Linked DNA regions of Homo sapiens: regions 1 and 3 are each linked to region 2. Evidence: promoter capture Hi-C in 16 types of primary human blood cells and fetal thymus (Javierre and others, 2016). All regions are on one chromosome and are shown on one strand. The core of a region is centred on a gene start or on the middle of the fragment in contact, and the rest is flanking DNA. Distances in the headings are between cores, read along the strand shown. Region 1 overlaps KPNA6 (karyopherin subunit alpha 6). Region 2 holds the start of MARCKSL1 (MARCKS like 1). Region 3 overlaps TXLNA (taxilin alpha).

Region 1 (3,258 bases), core at 377-2,876, 180 kb before region 2:
ATTCAGACTTTGAGGATGTTCAGGAACAGGTAATGCTTAGATTTGGTGTGATTCTTTATAGTACCTGTGGTATAATAAAAAATATATTTGGTCTTTGTCCTGGTTCTTGGCACAGTGTTAAAACTCTTGGAATTTCCTGAGTGATAGGGGTGTCAAGTACAGATGGCCCCTGGGACTTGCAACTGGTATCTCAAGTTGGGGCAGTCTTGTGGGACTAACCTGCGGACTCTGCATTAACTCTAGGTGTTAGAGTCAGAATTGAATTAAATCGTTGGACACATGGTTGGTATCAGAGAATGGGTGGTTGATGTGGAAAAAACTCTATACATTTGTTGTTGGAAGTGCCATTGGAAAAAAGACACCACAGTACCCATATCTGAGTACCCACAAATCATGGAGATAAAGATACAACTTCCATTTCTCCCATTGAATTCTTACTAGTTGGATAGAATTGGAGAGTGGTAGTGGGCTCTTTTATAGACTTGGTCCAAGGCAGCTACAAGAGTGCAACTTTCGCCAGGCGCGGTGGCTCACGCCTATAATCCCAGCACTTTGGGAGGCCGAGGTGGGCAGATCACGAGGTCAGGAGTTCAAGACCAGCCTGACCAACATGGTGAAACTCCATCTCTACTAAAAATACTAAAAAGTTAGCTGGGCATGGTGGAGCTTACCTGTAATCCCAGCTATTCAGGAGGCTTGAGACAGGAGAATCACTTGAACCCGGGAGGTGGAGGTTACAGTGAGCAGAGATTGTGCCACTGCACTCCAGCCTGGGTGACAGAGCGAGACTCCGTCTCAAAAAAAAAAAAAAAAAAAAATGCAACTTTCTGATTACTTTCTCCTTTTCTGGGCGATATTGTTTTGGCTTCTGTGGCTATAGTACAGATGGCAGCCTGTCTTTCCCTGCTGAACCAGGAACTCCCAGGGATAGGTCATTGTAGAACAAGTGCTCAGTAAGAATTTCAATAGGGAGGTTACCTGAGCTTGTGTAGTATATTTGGGGCCTTGACATCATTCTCATCCTGGTGGGTACTCACTTTGCAGTTGTGGCTATAAAGTACTCACAGGAGTACCAAGCTTTGTGGGTGACAGTTTCATTATCCCCTTTTCAGGCAGTCTGGGCACTGGGAAACATAGCTGGAGATAGCTCTGTTTGCCGAGATTACGTCTTGAACTGTTCCATCCTTAATCCTTTGTTAACGTGAGTAATTATAATCATCTGTACCTGGGCGTCTACTGGGTGGCCACGTGGCAGGTCATTTGGGGGCAGCATACTTGATTCCTTAAGATGATAGGTAAGTGCAAAAACTATAAAAATGCATTCTGATTGCCAAAGTAAAAGATAGGTATCTTTGGAGATTGAGAAGGTTGTGGCCGGGCATGGTGGCTTATGCCTGTAATCCCAGCACTTTGGTAGGCCAGAGCAGGTGGATCCCTTGAGCCTAGAGTTCAAAACCAGCCTGGGCAACATGGTGAAACCCCAACTCTACAAAAAATACAAAAGTTAGCCAGGTGTGGTGGCAGGCACCTGTAGACTCAGCTACTTGGGAGGCTGAGGCAGGGAGGATCACCTGAGCCCAGGGAGATCAAGGCTACAGTGAGCTGTGATTGATCACACCACTGCACTTCAGCCTGGGCAAAAGAGTGAAAAAAAAAAAAGATTGTGCCACCCATCTGCCAAAAAGGATCTTGTTCCTCACTTCATGGCACTGCAGAACCTCATGTTAGTCATATCCTCATATCCTCCTCATTGTTGAGCCAGGGGAGAGAGGCAGGACTAGCCCACCTGGAAAAATCCAACCTTCTCTACAAAATGCATTGATTTGTTATGGGGTTTTGCATACATACATCGGACAGCTCTGTCGTAAATTATAGATCAAAGACCCCGTGAAGCGTCATTGTATCCTTCTCCCATCCTTCCCTCCGTACCCTTAGAGTAAACTATGCCTAAACCAAAACAGATGAATGAACTGTTCTTCAGAGACCACAGTCTCATAGCCTACCACTGTCACTTTCTTGGACCCTTCACAGAAAATTATTCCATACTGTGTGGCTAAAGCTCTCACAGTAGACCTATAGCTTTTATTTCTTAGACTTTTAGCTTTTATTTCCAGAGAACACCATTCCTTGTCCTGGACTTGTGGCCAGGGTTATGGGCATGATATATCCCACTTTAGAAGCTTTACAGGCTTACTCCAGATCTAGCCCTCTGTTTCGTCCCTATTATCTATGGTATTAACTAGCCACAGCTGGTCCTGAAATGAATACTCTGTATAGAGCCTGGCCTCCTAACCTATACCAGCTCTATTAACTTAGGTCTGTGAGTAGGAAGAAACAGGCTGCTAGAGTCTGAGAGGTCTCATTGGATTTGTCTCTGGGTTCATTGGCAACAGTCCTATGCCAAGGCCTCAGTGCTCAGGATCTGGCTTTGCTGTTTCCTTCAGACTCCTTACCAAGTCCACACGACTGACGATGACACGGAATGCAGTCTGGGCCCTGTCAAATCTCTGCCGAGGGAAAAACCCACCCCCAGAGTTTGCAAAGGTGAGAGAGCTACTTACTAGACCCTGAGTGACATCAGGTTCCTTCATATGGAGTTTTTAAGTCTTTGGGATACTCCTTGGAGTCTCAAATCATGGGAAACTGAAAGAAGCAATTGTTAGTGAAGTAGATGATCTTGTGTACCTGGATAGTAAAGTGAAAAGGTAGACCCAAATGTTTAATGTAGTAGCGATCCCTAGGGTCTGGAATTACTTGTGTGTGTGTATTGTGGGGGCGGTGGTTGCAATGTTAGGGTTCGTGATAGAGCTGATATAGTCTTGTTCCCCTGTGAGTCTTTCTCACTCTGCTTCCCACAGGTCTCTCCTTGTTTGCCTGTACTGTCTCGCCTACTCTTCAGCAGCGACTCGGACTTGCTGGCAGATGCTTGCTGGGCCCTTTCTTATCTGTCTGATGGCCCCAATGAGAAGATCCAGGCAGTCATAGACTCCGGAGTCTGCCGGAGATTGGTAGAGCTGCTGATGTGAGTGGTCTTAGAAGGGGTACAGGTTCTGGCTGGGCACGGTGGCTTATGCTTATAATCCCAGCACTTTGGGATGCCAAGGTGGGCGGATCACAAGGTCAGGAGTTCGAGACCAGCCTGACCAACATGGTGAAACCCCGTCTCTACTAAAAATACAAAAATTAGCTGGGCGCAGTGGCAGGCGCCTGTAATCCCAGCTACTTGGGAGGCTGAGGCAGGAGAATCATTTGAACCTG
Region 2 (3,295 bases), core at 552-3,051:
GAATCCACAGGAGGGAGAGGAGGAAAGGGAACGTGGCTGGGAGGAGGCAATAGCCCCTTCCTTTCTGGGCACAGGAAGGCAGCCAGGGCACCAGGTCCAGGCAGTGACCTCACAAGGACAGCACAGTTTTTGCAGCTTAGAGATCACCCACCTGCCCCTACCTAGCTACTCATTCTGCTCAGCGCTGGCTGGTGTAGGGCCACTCTCCGGCCCCGAGGGAGTGGATGGCTCTGTAGCCTGGGGCCCTGCCTCTTCTTCTGAGGCTGCACTAGCCTCTGCCCCCTTGGCCTGGGGTTCCTGGCTCTCAGGGGTGGCTGCGGCCTTCCCTTCCTGAGCAGTGCCCTCGTCGCTGCAGGCACCGATCTCCCCCTGCTCCTGCTCTTCCTCTGTGGGTGAGGAGGCAGAAGAATCACCCCCACCCTCCTTCCGATTTCTCTTGAAGGACAGGCCGCTCAATTTGAAAGGCTTCTTGAAAGAGAATTTCTTCTTCTTCTTGGGGGTCTCCTTGGGGGGGACCTCCCCCTTGGCCTCAGCACCCTGGCTAGGGGGTGCTGGCTCGATGGCATCGCCAGTGGCCCCGGCTGCCTCATCTGTTCCGTTCACAGGGGGCGACTCCCCTTCACCCTTGGGGGATAAGTCTCCATTGCTTTTCACGTGGCCATTCTCCTGCAGGGCAGAGGGAATAGCAATGAGGGCAGGGGCTCCCCCTCCCCCAGCCCGCTTCTGATCCCTTCTAGAGGAAGGGGTCCTCGATTCGATTCTACTGCAACCCGAAAGTCTGGCTTCAGCCTCACCCACACCCAGGATCCCGTCAAACACCTCCCTCTCGCCCCTCACGGGCGCGCGGGGAGCGAGCGCGCAGAGGGCGCGACCGGCAGGAGGCGCTGGGGTCCCGTGGCCCCCACCCCCGTCCCCCGGGGCGCGCTCTCTATTCCGCGCGGAACCGCTCCGGATCTGCTGTGCGGATCCCGGGCAGGCGGGCGAGCCGCTCTAGGCGACATTGGGCGGGAAGCCGCCCCGGGGCGCTGTCTCTCTGCACCTGGACGGCCTATTTTCCCAGCCTCCCGCTTTGTGTAAGTGGCCCCCACCCACCCCAGGCTCTCCCGCATCTCGGCTCCCCCTTAAAAAAAAAAAGACCGTGGGCCACCGAGGTCGGGTCGGCGGGTGGAGTGCGCTCCCCGCCGGGCCCCAGCTCCGCGGCCCCTGGGCGCCCCCTTGGCGTGGCCCAGCAGCGCCTTTGTTCCCCGCGCGGCACTCGGGGCGGCCGGGGGGCAGCGCCGGGGACCGGGGCCGCGAACAAAGAAGGCGGCAGGGCCCGGCCGGCGCCCCCTCCCCGCCCCTCCCCTCGCTTCGCCCGCGGGGGCTGCGGCGCCGAGAACAAAGGGACCGGGCGGGGGAGGGGGCGCCGCGTGTCCCGGGCCGGACAAAGCGCGCGGCCCCGGCCCCGGCCCCGGGCCCTAGAAGGGGCGAGGTGCGAGAGGAGGGGCTGGGGCCGGCCGGGCCAAGCGTACCCACCTGGCCGTTGGCCTTCGCGGGGGAAGCGCCTGCTGCCTCCTCGGCGGTCACGTCGCCCCGGGGAGCCTTGGAGCTCTGGCTGCCCATGATGGGGGTCTGCTGGGGGGCGCTTGGAGCCGCCCCGGGCTCGCGCCGCAGGGGATAGTACGGCGGGGTCGGCCCGGCCGGCGGAGGGGTGGGGCTGGCGCCCGAGGGGGAGGGGTGCCGGGGGAAGCCGAGCTGCACCTCCGCTCCGCGGCCGACCCGCTAGCTGCGCCCGCCGCCGCTCCGCTCCGCGCCAGAATGCCGCCCGCCGCCCGCCGAGCTGCCTATATATAAGCGCCCGGAGCTCGGGGCGGGGCCGGACATTTAAATGCGCGCCCAATCGAGGGGCGGAGGCGGGGTTGGCTCGCAGGCCCCACTTGCGCAGCAGGCGACGCTGGCGGTCGGGTACCCCCCACCCCACCCGAATCCCAGGGGCAGGTAGAGTCCGGTGTGGGCAGGAGCGAGGCCAGTCCTCCCGCGAGCTGGGCGGGGCGGGGCGGGGGGCCTGGAGGAAGGAGACGGGCAGTCATTCCATCCTCTCCGCTCCACCTCTCCGGTGGGCGCCCCCGCAGCCTGGAGCGGCCCCCAACGCCTTGGTCCTGCAGCCGCTGGCAGTCTCCCGCTTGAACCCTTCGAAGGGCTCACACGACCAGGCTCGTCAGATGGCTGGTCCTGAATTATACTCTAGAAATGTGGTCATAGAAGCTGCAGGGCCCCTGCGCTGGGCTCGGCACCCGCTCCGGCCTGGAGAGCGGTCAGAGGTCCCACCCACGTCCCTGCCTGCCTGCCATGGCCAGCCGGGGAGCGGAGGGCTCTGCCTTGCCTCGGGGTCACTCTGGTCGGACTAGTGAGGCCTTTCCCTCATTCCTCCTTTCAGTCCCTTGGTGGCCAGTCATTCTGAGTGGGGACAGACAGATTCGCCTTGAGCCCCTCCTGCCCTCAGCCTGGACCCACTGCAAAGTCCCACGTGGGGGACTTTGTGACCTTGAAGGGCATCTCCATCCCCATTGAAAGGCCAAGGCTCAGAGGCATTGACAACCTGTCTGACTTGGCTCTGGTCCTTCCTCTTTACCTCCACACACAACTCTGCTCCCCTACATCAGGGTGCCCCAGGCCGGCAGAGGAACCCCAGCTGGGGACTCAACAAACCTCAAAACACCCCAGTTTCTGAAGGGGAGGGATAGGATGCTACCAAGGGTCCCTTCAAGGGACAGCCCCTTGAGGACAGCCCTCAAAGCTGCCCAGCCCAGCTTCCCACCCTGCCTGAGAGCAAGGGAGCCCGGAGGTGCTCCGGGCTGGAGACTCCCTAGCTTTGGTCCTCTGCCACCTCTCCTTCTGCTGGCCTGGATAGGCTGGTGGGAACCCCAGAATCCTGGCCGGCCCCGGATGTCTGTGTCCGGCTGCCAGCCCTCAGCCCCCAGGAGGAAAGGGATGGGGGCTGGAAGGAAGCAAAGTGTTGCAAATGCAAGGCTGTGTCCCAGCCAGCTCAGCAAGTCCCTCCCCTCCCTCCTACGGTGAAGCCTCCTGGGAGGCCTGAGGCTGTGAAGTGTGGAGACACCCCAGGGCCTGAGAAATTGGGAACTCCCCAGAGATCTGACCACAGAGGGGCGGGGAGGGCTGAGGTGGCTTCTGCATTCTGCACTCACTCCTGTATCCTCCATCCCCACCCCCACCCTGAGACTACAGAATACCCTCAGCTATCTCAGCTTCACTTGCCCCCCACCCCCGCCCCATTTCACAGACTGGGACCCTGAGG
Region 3 (3,338 bases), core at 159-2,658, 150 kb before region 2:
ATGTCTCTGAGGAGCTGAGCCGCCAACTGGAAGACATACTGAGCACATACTGTGTGGACAATAACCAGGGGGGCCCCGGCGAGGATGGGGCACAGGGTGAGCCGGCTGAACCCGAAGATGCAGAGAAGTCCCGGACCTATGTGGCAAGGAATGGGGAGCCTGAACCAACTCCAGTAGTCAATGGAGAGAAGGAACCCTCCAAGGGGGATCCAAACACAGAAGAGATCCGGCAGAGTGACGAGGTCGGAGACCGAGACCATCGAAGGCCACAGGAGAAGAAAAAAGCCAAGGGTTTGGGTGAGCAGAGGGCGGCTCTTTGTGAAGCTGGTGAGGAGAGGGAGTTTGGACTTGACGTTCTCTGGGCCAGTCTGTTCTGCCAGGATTCAAAGGAAAACGGTACTTCTCAGAGCAGCAAGTCACTCTAGTCTAATCAAAGCCAGGGATGTGGGGGCCACGGCATAGAGAGATGCAGGAGTTACCAGCACAAAGCCTTCTGGGTTTTGGAGCAACTGGAGCTTGGCATGGGACCTGTTCTCTCTTTGAGAAAATGGAGACGGGAGGCTAGGGTAGGCTCCTGTGCCAGCCAGTACTACCTGCTGTGTGACCTTGGGTGTGTCCCTTCTCCTCTCTGGGTCTTAGTTTATATTTCTCTTTACAGTAAGAAAATTAGACTAGGCCAGAGTTGAAAACCCAAATATCTGCATAAGCTGGGCTGGCCATGGGGCCACCTGAAGATGGAGGCTTTACTGCTTCCTGATTAGTTGCTCTCAGCTAGCCAACTGAGAGCAGGCAAAACTACAGGCTGGGTGCAGTCAGGCTTTTTTTTTTTTTTTTTTTTTTTAAATAAAGAAAAGCCAGAAATCTAGAGTTATGTGAGAACTCTAGATTTTTTCATAGTTAGCAGCTAAAATGGTAAGAGCCAAACAAAACCCATCCGTGGGTTGGATTTGGCACACATGCCTGCGAATTGCAGTCTCCATGCTGATCTCTTGGGCCCTTCTGGGGAGGCAGAGGGAAGGCTCCCTGACTCAGTCACAGGCAATGGGGAATAGGCAGTGACAGTCATTTTACAGCAGGGTATGTATGTTTAAGAGTCTAGGCCGGGTGTGGTGGCTCACGCCTGTAATTGCAGCACTTTGGGAGGCCGAGGCGGGTGGATCACCTGAGGGTCAGGAGTTCGAGAACAGCCTGGCCAACATGATGAAATCCCGTCTCTACTAAAAATACAAAAATTAGCTGGACATGCTGGCACACGCCTGTAATCCCAGCTACTTGGGAGGCTGAGGCAGGAGAATGGCTTGAACCCGGGAGGCAGAGGTTGCAGTGAACTGAGATTGTGCCACTACATCCAGCCTGGGTGACAAGAGTGAAACTCTGTCTCAAAAAAAAAAAAAAAGAATCTAGAATCTAAGTCGAGTGTCATTATATCCATGTTTTATTCCTATTCCCTTTTCCCCTTATGTATCCTCTTACTTTAAAGAGGAACTTTAAAAAATCTTAGGGACGACTAGGCAGAGTGGCTCACACCTGTAACTCCAGCACTTTGGGAGGCCAAGGCAGGCAGATTATGAGGTCAGGAGTTCGAGACCAGCCTGGCCAACATGGTGAAACCCCAGTTCTACTAAAGATACAAAAAATCAGCCGGGCGTGGTGGCACGTGCCTATAATCCCAGATACTCGGGAGGCTGAGGCAGGAGAATCACTTGAACCCGTGAGGCAGAGTTTTCAGTGAGCTGAGATCATGCCATTGCACTCCAGCCTGGGTGACAGGGTGAGACTCCATCTCAAAAAAAGAAAAAGGAAAAAATCTTAACGTCACATACATGGAAAGTATCATCTTCTTCACCCCCCACCCCCAACTGAGATGGAGTCTTGCTCTGTCACCCAAGCTGGAGTGCACTGGCGCGATCTCAGCTCCCTGCAAGCTCCGCCTCCCGGGTTCACACCATTCTCCTGCCTCAGCCTCCCGAGTAGCTGGGACTACAGGCGCCTGCCACCATGCCCGGCTAATTTTTGTATTTTTTTAGTAGTGACAGGGTTTCACTGTGTTAGCCAGGATAGTCTCGATCTCCTGACCTCATGATCCGCCCACCTGGGCCTCCCAAAGTGCTGGGATTACAGGCGTGGGCCACCGTACCCTGCCTTTTTTTTTTTTTTTTTTTTTTGAGATGGAGCCTCGCTCTGTCCCTAGGTTGGAGTGCAGTGGCGCGATCTCGGCTCACTGCAAGCTCCACCTCCTGGGTTCACGCCATTCTCCTGCCTCAGCCTCCCGAGTAGCTGGGACTACAGGCTCCTGCTACCATGCCCGGCTAATTTTTTTGTATTTTTTTTAGTAGAGACGGGGTTTCACTGTGTTAGCCAGGATGGTTTTGATCTCCTGACCTCGTGATCCGCCCGCCTCAGCCTCCCAAAGTGCTGGGATTACAGGCGTAAGCCACTGTACCCTGCCTTTTTTTTTTAATTAATTAATTTTTTTAGACAGAGTCTCGCTCTGTCACCAAGCTGGAGTGCAGTGGCGCGATCTGGGCTCACTGCAACCTCCGCCTCCTGGGTTCAAGCGATTCTCCTACCTCAGCCTCCGGAGTAACTGGGACTACAGGCGCGTGCCACCACACCAAGCTAATTTTTTTGTGTATGTCTTTAGTAGAGATGGGGTTTCACCATGTTAGGATGGTCTCGATCTCTTGACCTCGTGATCCGCCTGCCTCGGCCTCCCAAAGTGCTGGGATTACAGGCATGAGCCACCTTGCCTGGCCGAAAGTATCTTCATTTTAAAGTTCACTGTTTGGCTACTCTGTTGACAAGAGTTTAGTATTTCTCAAGGAGGCTAAGATACCTATTCCTTTTTGGATCCTACCTCTATCAGGAGGGTGGGCCTTCCTTGCATTGAAACAGTATGAAACAGTAGCCCTGAATTCATAAGTGGGACACCTTTCTTCTATTGGTAGAGCAGGCAGTTTTTTTCTCCTGCCAATGGTGCCTACTAAGGAGATTTCACTAGGGTACAGTCGTTCATTTGATAAGCATTTGTTGAGCATATCCTCTGTGATGGTACTATGGACAGTACTGGGGCTATAGTGAGGGCAGGATTGAGTTGGTCCTTATGGCAAGGAAGGCAGCTAATCAACAAGCAAAATATAAAGTATGATGGGGAGGGCTGTCTTCAGCACTCATGAGTGTGAGCCCAGGCCTGGAGGGGACACCTGGAGAAGAGGGTGCATGTCTTTGCTCCTGTGCTTTTCAGGGAAGGAGATCACGTTGCTGATGCAGACATTGAATACTCTGAGTACCCCAGAGGAGAAGCTGGCTGCTCTGTGCAAGAAGTATGCTGAACTGGT

The links. The method cuts DNA at HindIII sites, captures the fragments that hold promoters and counts their contacts. A CHiCAGO score of 5 or more calls a contact.
Region 1: a fragment that was not itself captured here is called in contact with the fragment with the promoter of MARCKSL1 in region 2 in 1 of 17 cell types (total CD8 T cells); the score reaches 5.4 in total CD8 T cells.
Region 3: a fragment that was not itself captured here is called in contact with the fragment with the promoter of MARCKSL1 in region 2 in 8 of 17 cell types (non-activated CD4 T cells, activated CD4 T cells, naive B cells and 5 more); the score reaches 8.4 in non-activated CD4 T cells.

Annotation. Positions count from the first base shown.
Region 1 is chr1:32,159,503-32,162,760 of GRCh38, forward strand. KPNA6 (karyopherin subunit alpha 6) reads left to right here. Exons shown (of 14, transcript NM_012316.5): 6 at 1-29; 7 at 1,113-1,201; 8 at 2,445-2,544; 9 at 2,859-3,022. Among named protein-coding and RNA genes, the nearest start is that of TXLNA, 19 kb to the right of the region's middle. The HindIII fragment of the contact is 1,103 bases long and covers 1,076-2,178 here.
Region 2 is chr1:32,334,432-32,337,726 of GRCh38, forward strand. It overlaps MARCKSL1 (MARCKS like 1), which reads right to left and starts at 1,802. Exons shown (of 2, transcript NM_023009.7): 1 at 1,516-1,802; 2 at 1-666. The coding sequence starts at 1,602. The coding sequence ends at 166. LOC124903949 (a long non-coding RNA gene) reads left to right here and starts at 946. Exons shown (of 2, transcript XR_007065661.1): 1 at 946-1,073. RefSeq lists silencers at 624-1,063, 1,204-1,283, 1,414-1,563, 1,584-2,113, 3,047-3,175 and enhancers at 1,455-2,024, 2,294-2,383. The HindIII fragment of the contact is 20,076 bases long and covers 1-3,295 here.
Region 3 is chr1:32,181,281-32,184,618 of GRCh38, forward strand. It overlaps TXLNA (taxilin alpha), which reads left to right. Exons shown (of 11, transcript NM_175852.4): 3 at 1-297; 4 at 3,245-3,336. Among named protein-coding and RNA genes, the nearest start is that of TXLNA, 3.3 kb to the left of the region's middle. The HindIII fragment of the contact is 4,926 bases long and covers 1-3,338 here.